Linked DNA regions of Homo sapiens: region 2 is linked to region 1. Evidence: promoter capture Hi-C in 16 types of primary human blood cells and fetal thymus (Javierre and others, 2016). All regions are on one chromosome and are shown on one strand. The core of a region is centred on a gene start or on the middle of the fragment in contact, and the rest is flanking DNA. Distances in the headings are between cores, read along the strand shown.

Evidence for each region. Contacts are between HindIII fragments. The CHiCAGO score rates a contact against its expected background, and 5 or more counts as called.
Region 2: a contact is called between a fragment that was not itself captured here and the fragment with the promoter of AKIRIN2 in region 1, in 1 of 17 cell types (total B cells). The highest score is 8.0, in total B cells.

What each region holds. Positions count from the first base shown.
Region 1 is chr6:87,697,751-87,704,701 of GRCh38, reverse strand. AKIRIN2 (akirin 2) reads left to right here and starts at 2,469. Exons shown (of 5, transcript NM_018064.4): 1 at 2,469-3,252. The coding sequence starts at 3,018. RefSeq lists enhancers at 1,898-2,207, 2,518-2,577, 5,694-6,213 and silencers at 2,738-2,907, 3,088-3,297. The HindIII fragment of the contact is 11,354 bases long and covers 1-5,986 here.
Region 2 is chr6:88,765,688-88,772,156 of GRCh38, reverse strand. RNGTT (RNA guanylyltransferase and 5'-phosphatase) reads left to right here. Exons shown (of 16, transcript NM_003800.5): 13 at 2,283-2,383. Among named protein-coding and RNA genes, the nearest start is that of RNGTT, 190 kb to the left of the region's middle. The HindIII fragment of the contact is 1,496 bases long and covers 2,013-3,508 here.

The DNA of each region.
Region 1 (6,951 bases), core at 1,220-3,719:
GGGTCTGGCTATGACACCCTGGCCGGAGTGTGGTGGTGTGATTACAGCTTACTGCAGCCTCAACCTTCTGGGCTCATGCAATCCTCTCACCTCAGCTGCCCCGAGTAGCTGGGACCACAGGTGACCACCACCATGCCTAGTTAATTTTTTAAAAATTTTTGTAGAGATGAGGTTTCTTATCATTGCCCAGGCTAGCCTCAAACTCCTGGCCTCAAGTGATCCTCCCACCTCGGCCTTCCAAAGTGCTGGGATTACAGGTGTGAGCCACCGCACCTGGCCCAAATTTCCTTTTTTGTATAAGAATACCAGTCATATTGGATTAGGGGCCCATCCTACTACATTTAGCTAATTACATTTGAAATAATCCTATTCCTAAGTAAAGTCATATTCTAAGGTACTGGAGGTTAGGACTTCATATGAATTTTGAAGTCCTTGAATTCCCTCAAACATAGGGAATTTAACTCACAACATCACATTTCAAATGTAGGTTTTATAACTTATGGGCAAATCTTAATTTCAGAAAATATTACCAAGTGTTTAGAATTTACTAGAAATTTACCTAGTAGGTGTCTTAGTTAAGCTGCTGTTTCATTAAATGCTTATCTTTTTCAAAAGATTTTCCAAATGTAGGAAATGTAGGATATTTCCAAATATCCTAAATTAAAACTAGAAGGGCTTACTTGTTGACACAGTGTGATCAGGACTGCTGATCTCTGAAGCACTGGACAATTCTATAAAATTGTCTATAAAAAAGAATATATTGAACTACTTCTAAATATGGTTTAAAAATAATAGACAAAATGGCTATAAAACATCTGTTACTGAATAAAGAAGAATACATGAGCACTGGAAATCAGTATTTATAATCATTTGACAGTTGGCATTCACAAAATTGTTTCATATTGCACTGGTGATAGTTTCTACATATATCACTTTTTTTTTTTTTTTTTTTTTTTGAGACGAAGTCTAGCTCTGTCACCCAGGCTGGAGTGCAGTAGCTTGATCTTGGCTCACTGCAACCTCCGCCTCCCGGGTTCAAGCGATTCTTCTGCCTCAGCCTCCTGAGTAGCTGGGACTATAGGTGTGCGCCACCACGCCCGGCTAATTTTTTTTATTTTTAGTAGAGACAGGGTATCACCATGTTGAACAGGCTGGTCTCGAACTCCTGACCTCGTGATCCGCCTGCCTCGGCCTCCCAGTGCTGGGATTACAGGCGTTAGCCACCGCGCCCGGCATCATTTTCTTTTCTTTTCATTTTTTTCAGACAGAGACTCGCTCTATCACCCAGGCTGGAGTGCAGTGGCAACATCTCGGCTCACTGCAACCTTCGCCTCCCGGGTTCAAATGATTCTCCTGTCTTAGCCTCCCGAGTAGCTGCGACTACAGGCGCGCGCCACCACGCTCGGCTAATTTTGTATTTTTAGTAGAGACGGGGTTTCACCATTTTGACCAGGCTGGTCTCGAACTCCTGACCTCAGGAAGATCCGCCTGCCTCGGCCTCCCAAAGTGCTGGGATAACAGGCGTGAGTCACCATGCCCGGCTACACAGATCACTTTCTAAATTAGCGCTGTATTTGATTCTTATTTTAGGTATGTGACTAAAAGTACAACTTCTAGAAACACTTTTTTCCCCTTCCGCTTACAAAATGGATCCATCCAATATCTATTACCTAAACATTTCACTGTCTTTTGATTAGTTTTGTAACAAAGTTCACAATATATGCACCAATATTCAACAGAAGTAATGCAATGTCTGATACCACTTGCTTTTTACCCAACGCAAAACAATTTGATTCTGTAAGTCGTTCAAGTCCTATTCATTTACAGAAGCAAAGCTGGCTTTACAGAATTTCATTAGTGGATGAAGCAGCTACCTCCGAAGGGTAGAGCATCGAGTTGAATCAAGGATCCTGTAACCTGATACTATTACTGTTGTTCTGTCTGCCAGTCCTAAATAGGTTTCATAATCTCATTATCTCCTATCCTCTCCATGTGAAAGGTCTTGTTTTGGGTACTGTCGCTACCGAAATTAAGCTAACTTTGACTAGAGATTGGTTTATTATATTTCCCAGATCTGAAATCACTGTGGGAGCAACTATACGGAGAATCTTAAAAGATTTCTATGTCGCTTAGCCTGCTTTTGCCACGGGTTCGCTTTCCCATCTCCCACTGTCTCAGAACCTTCTCTTTTTTTCTCTTTTGCTTAGTTCCTCTTACACTCAAGCTGTGTAGGGGGATTTAAATTCCAACCCGGAACTCGGAATCGCGCGCCTTGCATGACGGAAGTCGTAGTTTCTGTGACTCCTCCCTTCCCGCCTTTCAAGCCGATTCCTCCCGGTACCTAAAAACTACAACTCCCAAAATGCATCCCCGGTTTGGCCCGCCCCCGTGCGCAAGCGCTCTGAGGCCGCCGGATTTGAATCGGCGGCGTTGTTATTGACGCCATATTGGGGCCGGCGGCGGGTGGGAGAGTTCTACGAGGGAGGGGAAGCGGTTGGACGTGTTCGCTTGGGTTCCTGCTGCGGCAGCTACCTCGCAATCTCTCTGCATCGATCGCCGCTCGCAAGCTACTGACCGTACTCGGGCGTATTAGGAGCCGCGTTCCAGCCTCACACCCCACGGTGCTGTTTTCGACTTCAGAAAGGATCTAGTCTCAGCACAGAAGCGCCTCAGGCGCGGCGCAAAGCTCGAGCGGACGGCGGGGGCGGCCGGAGCCTCTCTCGGGGGAGCCGCGCCTGAGGAGGCGGAAGAACCCCCCTGACGCGACTGGCGTGTGCTTCTGCCCGCCACCGCCCCTCCCGCTCTCACCCGGGCCGTCCCTGGCCACTGCCCCTGCCGCGGAGGCAGCGGCGGCAGCGGCTCTCCTTTCCACAGCCGGCGCTCCGCGACCCGCTTGGCTCCTGAGCCCGTCGGGTAGGCTCTCCTCGAGTTCCCGCTCTTCACCCCTTCCCTCACCCTCTTCTTTCGTCACCCGTCCCCGACCCCACCCGAGCCCGGCGCCTCAGCTGCCCCCGGCCATGGCGTGCGGAGCCACTCTGAAAAGGACTCTGGATTTCGACCCGCTGTTGAGCCCGGCGTCCCCGAAGCGCAGGCGATGTGCGCCATTGTCGGCGCCCACCTCGGCCGCTGCCTCCCCGTTGTCGGCGGCCGCGGCCACCGCCGCCTCCTTCTCCGCTGCGGCCGCCTCGCCGCAGAAGTATCTCCGAATGGAGCCATCCCCCTTCGGCGACGTCTCCTCCCGCCTCACCACAGGTGGGACCCGGCCCCGCGGCCGCCGGGGTAGTGGAGAGAACTGGGAACAGGGGTCCTGGGGTGTGGGATGCGGCCCCTGGGGTGGGGGTGCCGGACTGTGTGGTTCTTGTTCTTAGCAAAGTAGTAGGGCAGCCACGTTTTTCACTAGGTCCTCGTAGCCCGAGGACCTAATAAGACACAATAGAAATGGGCTGATGTCAAGGGGATAGTGTTTGGAGGTGGGTAGGGGCTTTGCCTTGCCCGTATTGGGTAGAACAGGGACATCTTTTTCTTTGGGCCGAATGATTGGAATTGTTTCCGTAGTCGCTGGAGCCCCAGCGGAAATGATCAGAGAGGACGATATTATTCGTAAATTTAGGCGAAAGGGTCACATTTCACCCCAATCTGGATGTGTGCTTGCCGTAATCGATTGGTTGCAGCTATTAACTCTGGGACTGGGTGGTTTGAGGCGAGGCTACAGCCCCTCCTTCAGTTCAGACACGGCTGATTTTAGTATAGTGGGGGTGGGGGGTGGGGGATGGATGTCACTAGGGCGAGATCTAGGCCTGTCATTAATCACCCACAAGAACGCCACTTTGGCTGAGTCAAGACCTGTTTCCCTAGCAGGGTCAACAACAAAGAAAATGCTCTTCCCGAGTACTGTAATATGATCACACTATAAGTCTAGACCTTGAGAAATGTTGAACTTTTAATAAGCATATTGCATTGAAAATTGGGGCTGAGGAGTTGCTTTTATTTGGAAATGTTTTATTTTTGCCCAACAAAGTATGCTGGGGGAAAACAACCTAGCCTTGAGAATAATGAAGAAATCAACCCAAGATTCCAAGGGACTTCAGACTTTTGCTTTTCATCTTGAAACATTTCCTGAGAGAGACTGGGGAATGTCTTTTGGCTGCTTTGTAGGGCATGTGTATGCCCAGTTTTTTCTGTACTTTGAAATCCTTGTGTGCCCCTGGCACAATCCTAGGATAGGCTTTTGTGGACTAGAAGTGTAAATGTTTCCTTTGTGTGTAGCATGCAAAGATTTCTGTGTGAGCCTTTAGTAATAATATCACCCTTTAGACAAAGCCTTTCCATAGCTTGATTTAAATGTCTCGTTATCAGTAGCTTAAAAAACCGAAGTATATACCTCTGTATTTGGTGACTTCCATTTGAAACTGACTTTAGTGTTTTTTTTTTTTTGTCACATTTAAAAATATTTTCTAAATCCATGGAGTGACCCTCGAATATGCAAGCTACCATTTTTGCTATTAAATATTTGGTCTAATTTAAGGACATACTGTTTTAGAGTTGTAGTGAGTTTTTACGGAAATTCTTAGATAAATTTATTTAATGACCTTACTAAACTGTGTTTTAATTAGATTGAAAAGGCATTTGTTGATTAATTGTTAGGCTTTACTTTGGGAAAAAAAAAAGGAAACAGCCAATGTCAAGAATGAGCTACTGGTGGTTGACATTTTTGGAATTTGTCTTTTAGTGAAATGGTATCATTGGAAATTGAAATGGATTCTGTACTTAACTAATAAAGCCATTTCAAAATAAGGTCATTAAGGAGCTAACCAGCAATACATTTCAGTCGAGGGAGTGAATTAATACAGTGCTAGGTTTGGGAATTAAAGTACTATATCTCAATGTCAAAATAATCTTGGGCATGTATGTGAACAATTGGGGACTATACCATGTTCCTCCCCTTTAAAGCACACTTATTCAGAATTGTGATCCTTTGTAAACGACTTTTCATTGGCATATCTGTAGCGTTGGTTAATACAGTTGGCTCCACATTATCTCAAGTTTAAATTAATTGGACTGTTGTAGTAAAACGACTGGAATTATTGGAATTGTTTAAGCCAGCTGATTGAGATTCACATTCACTTTCCAAAATACTGCTATTTTCTTCAAGGTGTTTTTTTTTTGACATCTACTTTGGAAGTTTGATTATATCCTGAAACCTAAAATCACATCCTTATTGATTCTGAGTCTGCTAAAAGTTATTTCCAAACTAATTTGAATATTATCGCAAAAAGTTTACTTGAGAAAACAAGTTGAAATTGAAATTTTGACTTGCTAAAATTACATTTTTTAAACGGTAGTTTTGAATGACATTCTAAATGTAATTTAGTTTGACTTTGTGTTTATATGGCCAATTTGGGGTATGGTCCTGTATGTTTTTTGTAATGTCATAATGGGAGCTGCAGTGTTGTGCAGGTATCAAAGAGCTTCCCAGTTTTCATGTTAGTAAACTTGGAAATAATTTTCTCATGCACCTGATTTTTAGCTTCCTATTTTAACACCGATTATTCTTAAACTTTATGGGAGTAAATACCCATCTGTCATTAACTAAAATGAGTAGTTAGGTTTGGAAGTAGACAGTGGCTTACCAAATTGAGATTGGCAAACTTGTGGGAACTCTTTGTTTTCCTTTCACATCTGTGAGTTCAAATATAATACAAATTAATGTAGAACTAGAGTACTAAAGTGACTTTTTTTCAGAGCATGTATACACTTTATTTTATCATTGTTCTCCTCTAGATACTTTCAGTTTCTGATGGCATAGCTGAAGTCATGTTGTGGCTTTATTAGTTTCAGGAACTTGGATGTCTGTTTTAAACCTTAGCTATCATTTTAGTCATCCCAGGAAGTTTGACTTGACTATTCTTATTTAAATATTTTTCAAACTGTTGCAACTTAATACTAGGAAAAAGGAAGGACTAGCTGAGCTGACGGAAGTTAAGCTTGCTTTCTTAACCGCAAGGCTTAGAGCCTTTATTATGCTAATTGGCATTATGAATTTTTTAGGGACTCCTTAACACACAGCTATCCCAAACCTGTTTTTTAGGACACCTAAGTGTTACTAATTCAGAAATGCTGTTCAGGGTCTAGGGATGGTTGACAAAGTATAGCCATATTTTTGTGTAGCCTGAGAGCTAAGAATGTTCTTTACATTTTTTAAATGGTTGGAAAAGAATCAAAAGAATTATTTTGTGACACGTGAGAATTATGTGAAATTCAAATTTCAGTGTCCATAAATAAAATTTTATTGGAACACAGCTGTGCTCATTCTTTTTTTTTTTTTTTTAAGTATTGTTCATTGCAGGTGACGATGGCAGAGTTTAATAGTTGTCACACACAGTATATTGCCCCGAAAACTCCATATTTGCTCTCTGGTGTTTACAGAAAAAGTTTGCTTACCCTCATGTGGGGTGTCAGCAGTGAGGTTTATAATACCCCTGGGTATGGAAAAGGAAAAGTGATCAGTGGAAGTAAGGGGAGGGGGAGCAGAAGCATTGAATATCGTTGGTGAAATGAATGCCTCTAGTAGCTGCATCAATACTTACCCTGGTAAGTTAGTTGAAAACCAAAGTATGCTTTACTATTGGTTTTTGAAACATCTCATAATACTACCATTTAGCCAAAAGATTGTCATGACATTCCCAAGAAAGAATTTTAATAAAACCAAAATATTGCAACATTATAAGAGACCGTCAATCAAATCCAGCACATTGTTTTCATTATGTAGTGAATGAATGGTCTGAAGATACCCTTCTGTGAATGTTAATGTATTTGTGAGTTTGTTAGGCACATTAATTCACATTGTTTATGGCTTGGTACCATTAATCTGCCTTAGGAATTGAATTCTGTGAAGAGTTAAGTTCCTTTGTAAGAACTCATTGTACTTGCTGGAAACTTGCCATTAAAAAT
Region 2 (6,469 bases), core at 1,511-4,010, 1.1 Mb before region 1:
CTCAGGCTGGAGTGCAGTGGTATGATCATGGCTCACTATAGCCTTGACCTCCCAGGCTCAAGCAATCCTCCCACCTCAGTCTCCTAAGGAGCCGGGACTACAGGCATGTGCCACTATATTTGGCTAATTATTAAATTTTTTTGTAGAGATAAGGTCTTGCTTTCTTGCCCAGGCTGATCTCGAACTCCTGGGCTCAAGCTGTCCTCACACCTCTACCTCCCAAAGTGCTGGAATTACAGGCGTGAGCCACCGTGCCTAACCCTACTGTAAGTTTTTAAAAATGTCCTTTCCTTTTTTTTCTTTTGATTTTTATTGCTGGTGTATAGAAGCAAAACTGAATTTTTGCGTTGATAATTTCACCAAAAATAGTAAATTATTAGGAATACATTTAACAAAAGCCATGCAAGATCTCTATACTGAATACTACAGAACATTGTTAAGATTCATTTAAGGATGAGTAAATGGAGAGATTTACAGTGTTTATGAATCAGAAAATTCAATTTGGTTAAGATGTCATTTCTTCCCTAACCTATTGATTGATTCAGTGTAATCCTCATTAAAATCTCAGCAGGCTTATTTTTCATAGAAATTGGCAAGCTGATTTTAAAATGTATGTGGAAATGTAAATGCTACATTAGCTAAAAGTGTTTTGAAAAAGGAGAATAAAAGTCTGAGGACTTACACAGCCTGTTTTCAAAATGTATAAAGTTATAGTAATTGAGACTATTCTATTAGCAGGAAGAAAGACATATATGTTAATGCAACAGATTAGTGAGAAAAGAAATTGTGTGTGTGTGTGTGTGTGTATATATATATATATATATATATATATATATATATACACACACACACATACATACATACAGTCCTGTGCTTCATACCATAGAAATTAATAAGCTGAAGTAGTTTGTATACCTAAAAATAACAGCTGAAACCATAAAACTTGTCTAAGAAAACATAGTAGAAAATTGTAATGACTTTAGGAAAATATTCCTTAAATAGGTCACAAAAAGCACAAATTATATAATTTTTAAATGGATAATTTTGACATTACTAAAATAAAGAACTTTGGTCTTCAAAAGAAATTATTTAGAAAATGAAAAAGCCAAAGACTTGTAGAAAATATTTGTAATACATATATCCAACCAAGACTATTTATTTACAATATGTAAGTAACTTCTTACAAGGCAGTAATGAGTCAAACAGCTCAGTGCAAACAAGAGTAAAAGATTTGAACAGACACTTCACCAAAGAAGGTATACAGATAGCAATAAACAAAAGAAAAGATCTTCACCATCTTTGTGTCATTAGAGAAATGCCAATTAAAATGATGAGACACACACTTTAGAAAGGCTAAATTAAGAAGACTGACAATGCCTAGTCCAAGGCGGATATGGAGCAAATGGACTTCTCATTCATTTCTGGTAGGAATAGAAAATGTTACAGTTTGACAGTTCTTACAAAGCTAAACATGCATTTGCCATGTGATACAGTCATTCCACTCTCCTAGTTATTTACCCAAGAGTTAGGAAAACATGTCAATACAAATGTTCAGAGCAGCATCATTCATGATAGCCAAAAACTGGAAACAACCCAGATATCCATCACCTTGTAAATGTGTAAACAATTTGTGGTATATACATACAATGGAATCCTAGTCAGCAATGAAAAGGAACATACTACTAGTATATGCACCAGGATAGATTCATCTCAAAAATCTTACATAAAGTGTTTCTTTATTTTTTATTTTTAAAGTATTTCTTATGTAGCTAGAAAAGGTACAACTGTAGTCGTAGAAAGCAGATCACTGTTGCCAGAATGCTGACGGAGGGAATTGACTGCAAATGGTAGCAAGAAATTTTTTCACATCCTTGAAATGTTCAATATCATGATTTTGGTCATGGTTACGTAACTGTATATATTTGTCAAGATTTGTTGGTTAATTTTATTCATTATAAATTATCCCTCCATAAAGCTGAACAAGAAAAAAAAGCATTTTTAAAAATGAAGCTTCTTTTAAGTCATAGGAAGGTTGGATAGAATCACTGGTTTTATTCTTTTTCTGGACTTTCACAAACAAGGGTCTACATGTCTTTGGTAGGAAAAGAAGAAAGGTCATCAATAAGAAGGTAGATATCTAGCCTGACTTGTTGGTTGAAGATTAAAATTATGTTTAGAAAAGAAGTAATTTTGCTTAATAAAAAGTTACATTAGGTTTAATACATTGAATGTTTAATTTTTAACTTCTTAGTAACGATTGTCATCATTTTAATTGGCTTTAGAAATACAAACCTGGTCGATGTGATGATATTTTGAAATGGAAGCCTCCCAGTCTGAATTCTGTGGATTTTCGTCTAAAAATAACAAGAATGGGAGGAGAAGGGTAAGTATGCACTTTTGTACTTTTTGCATGAAATAATACTGTTTGTGTAAGGCTTCACCTTTTACAGGGTATTTCATATATACTTTACAATACTTTAAAGAAAGAAACTAAAATACTTTATTTTACAAGATATTTTACATATATACTTATACAACAATTTCGTTTTCAGAGATTACTCCTTTGACCTGTGTCAGCTAACATATAGCAGTTTCCTTTAAAGTTTACTGATCTTTGTTTTAAAATCATTTTCATTAATATAATTATATTAATAACAACAATATAAAAGGTAATAATAATATTAAAAAACGAATTTTGGCTGGGCGTGGTGGCTCATGCCTGTAATCCTAGCACTTTGGGAGGCCAAGATAGGCAGATTGCTTGAGCACAGGAGTTTGAGAGTAGCCTGGGCAACATGACGAAACCCCCCTCTACCAAAAATAGAAAAATTAGTTGGGCTTGTTGGCACATACCTGTGGTCCCAGCTACTCGGGAGGCTGAGGTGGGAGGATTGTTTGAGCCTGGGAGGCAGAGGTAGCAGTGAGCTGAGACTGCACCCTGCTGCACTCCAGCCTGGGTGACAGAGTGAGACCACTTCCCCCGCCGCACACCTCCCCCCAAAGAAAAGAACTTTGTTAAATTGTAAAGTGAAAATTTTACTAAATTTTGAGATTTTACTGAAAAATAATTCTCTTATATGAATTATAGATCTAGATATAAGATATGATCATTGGTATTATAATTAAGCATATCGAAATAAGTCTTTTTTACTTTGAAGGAAATTACTTCATGTTTGCATTTGCAGAGCAAATATTTTCTATACTTTTGTAGGGTAAGTTAACTGTTGACTTTCATTAAGATTTTTTATAATGTCTATTAAGTGTTAATTTTTAAATTTATTGGTTAATCTTCCTTTTATGACTTTTTGGTTGCTATCTTAGAATAAAAGATGCTTTAGCATGAATATTTTCAACATTTTTCCAAAGCCTTGTTTTTATTTCACTTTTGTTCTATAACTTTTTAAGTATCTTGGCTAAGTAAATACATTACAACAAAATAAGAAATCCTTAATCAAGGAAATCAGAAAGAGAAAGTAAATAAGATAATACTAGCAAAGAGATTAAAGCTTACCAGTGCATCCTGTGAAATTTTTACTTATCAAAGGTAAAGCACAGATAGCATTTTTGCTAGCTGATGGAACAGGGGATATATGGAGTCCAGACTCCAAAAGATTAAAATATATTAAGAAACTATGCATTATCAAAGAAAGGAAACTGTGCATTGTGGTGAATCTTAAGTGAAAAGGTGGGTTTAATAAAGCATGTGGGTATTCGTTTTCAAACAACAGGGTATTTAACATTTTATTTGAGGCTGGGTGCAGTGGCTCATGCCTGTAATTCCAGCACTTTGGGAGGCCAAGGTGGGAGGATCACTTGAGGCCAGGAATTTGAGACCAGTCTGGGCAAAATAAGGAGGCCCTGTTTCTAAAACAAACAAAAATTAGCCGGGTATGGTGGTGCATGCCTGTGGTTCCAGCTACTTGGGAGGCTGAGGTGGCAGGATTGCTTGAGCCCAGAGCAAGTCTCTGTCTCAAAAAAAAAAGAAAGAAAAAGAAACACACACACACACACACACACTATCCCTAAATGTTTGTGGCTTAATTTACAATTGGGACTTAATGGCAAAAAGTTGTTAGAACAATTATCTGGAACCCCCAAGAATATATTGAGCTCTATATGAGTCTGATTATAATCCAAGGATAGATAAATTTGAGGCTATAGGAATAGCTGGAATACACACACAGGAATGACTTTCAGGATAGTTTCAAAAATGTCTTTCTCTTATCTAAACATTGGATAAATATTGATATGTTGAACATTCAAGATTAGTCTTCCTGACAAAGTGCCCAGTGTACAGATTTTCTCAGTTGCCAGTCAAATGTGGGATTGTTTATCACTAATCATGCAAGTTGGGTGTAGGTTTGATATGTTCTTCTGGAAGTGCCTTACAGAAGACCATCTCACTATTAGAAAAATTGAGGCTAAGAAACTAATTCTAGTGGGGCTACGCTGTTTTTTTTTTTTTTTTTTTTTTTTTTGACACAAGTGAATATAGTTCTTCGAAAAATAAGACTTCAAAGATGAAGTAAAATTTTGTTAAACTGCTTCATTACTAAATCTTCTATTTTTCTTAATGCTATATTTGTATTTGGTTAAAGAGTATAGACTCTCGGATTGTTTCATTGGGTTTTTTAAAAACAACTTACTTTTGCCTTTTACAGTCAGTTCTTAGTGGCACTTAAAGGCTTCCTGAGGCTAAACATAGAATACTCATTTCTCTAGTAGTAAAAAATGTTATTTTTTCTTGCAGTTTCCTATTGTAATTAAACATAGCATGATGTAATTCAGTTTAGTAGTTTGTCATCCTAGTTTTGCCTTTATTCATAGTACGTTTTAAATATATTTTGTTCTTTTAAAATTTTACCTATTTAATGTCTTCTTCCTAAAAAATGGAATTACTTTTGAGTCTAGTGCATCTTTAAAACTCATCCAAATGTTTCTCTAAGGTGATTTTCAGATAGGAATATGCAATTTACATCAGTGTATGTACATTATTTGTGTAATGGGAGTCAATTTTCAAAAATAGAATATTTAATATGAAATATAACATGGTAACTATTACATAAAACATATTCGGTTAGCCAGAGTAATATGCTTTTTCTAAATGTAAAGAATGTTGTGCATTATAGCAGTCTTTACTGAATAAATGAGTTTATATCTAATGCTTAGCATTAACTCAGTATTTTAGAGAACACTGTAAGAAATATGTCTATACTAGTTCGAAAGGGGAGTAGCTATGTCTCTGAATCATTAAGCATGCACTAGTGAAGTGGGACTAAGCTGTTAAAACACCATGAGAGAAGCTCATATCTTTGATTGTACTTCCAAATATTTCTACAAAGCCTAAAATGGAATAGAATATCTTGAAGGTATAATATAAATAATAGTCTTTGAAAATGACTGCAGTAGTTTTCTAAGAAATGAAGACTTAGGCATTCTAGGTATGTTTTTGAGTTTGACTTTAATGAGGTGCTAATAGTATAGATTTCTGTTAGATTGAAATTTAATACAAATAGAAAAATCTGTTCTATGTGTTGAGTGCCCTGTTGATGGCAATTAAAATCCATACTTTGCTCTTCTTATCTCCTATTATCATTTCTGAAAATTTGAGATATATTAACATTGATTTATCATGGCCTAATATAACTTTTGTATATCTTAGCAATTTATATTGTGTTGAGTTTTATACACAATATAGATTTTCATCTGAGAGCTATTTGTTGTTTTAAAAACATGATGGCTTTATATTAACTAACTTGTGACCTAAAACCATGGTCATTGTCAAAAGCTAGAATTACAAAAGTAGTCTGTACTCTGGAAATTGCAAACTCTTGAGTACAATGTCAGTGATATATAGTGATTGGTATAAACTTATTATTTGTATAGAATAGTATTTTAGAGTTCAGGTTTTAAAGCTGGACTGCCTAGGTTATCTCCTTACTGTCTGTGTGATTGAGCACATTACTTTTTTCTGTGTGTCAAGTTCTTCATCAATAAAATAAGTTGGCCTCATAAGACGTCTGTAAGGATTAAATAAGCTAATGTATGTAAAATGTTTAGAACAGAACCTGGTACATGGTAAACGTTTAAATATTTGCCATTATTTTTATTGTTTTAATCAAAACAAATTTAAAAGTGCATCTTCCCTTCTTGCTGCCTCTGCAATACTACCTGTTACTTGCTGCACTAAGTCCAACTTTCTGTGTGAATCATTTCCTATTTGATTCCAATCTCTGTTAATTTTCTCTTTTAAAATGCATATATCTTTAGCTTTTTTGTGTAATTTGTCATAACTGTTAAACACCTGGAGAGCAAGAGCACAGCAAAGTCAGTAACTTTTCATTATAGAGGTTTTTGTAACAAGTCTCTTAAAATAACCTTGACAGTATATATACTGGTATATATAGCATATAGTGGTTAAGAACATAGGTTATTGGCCAAGTTTGCCCAGAACCAAATCCAAGTTCCA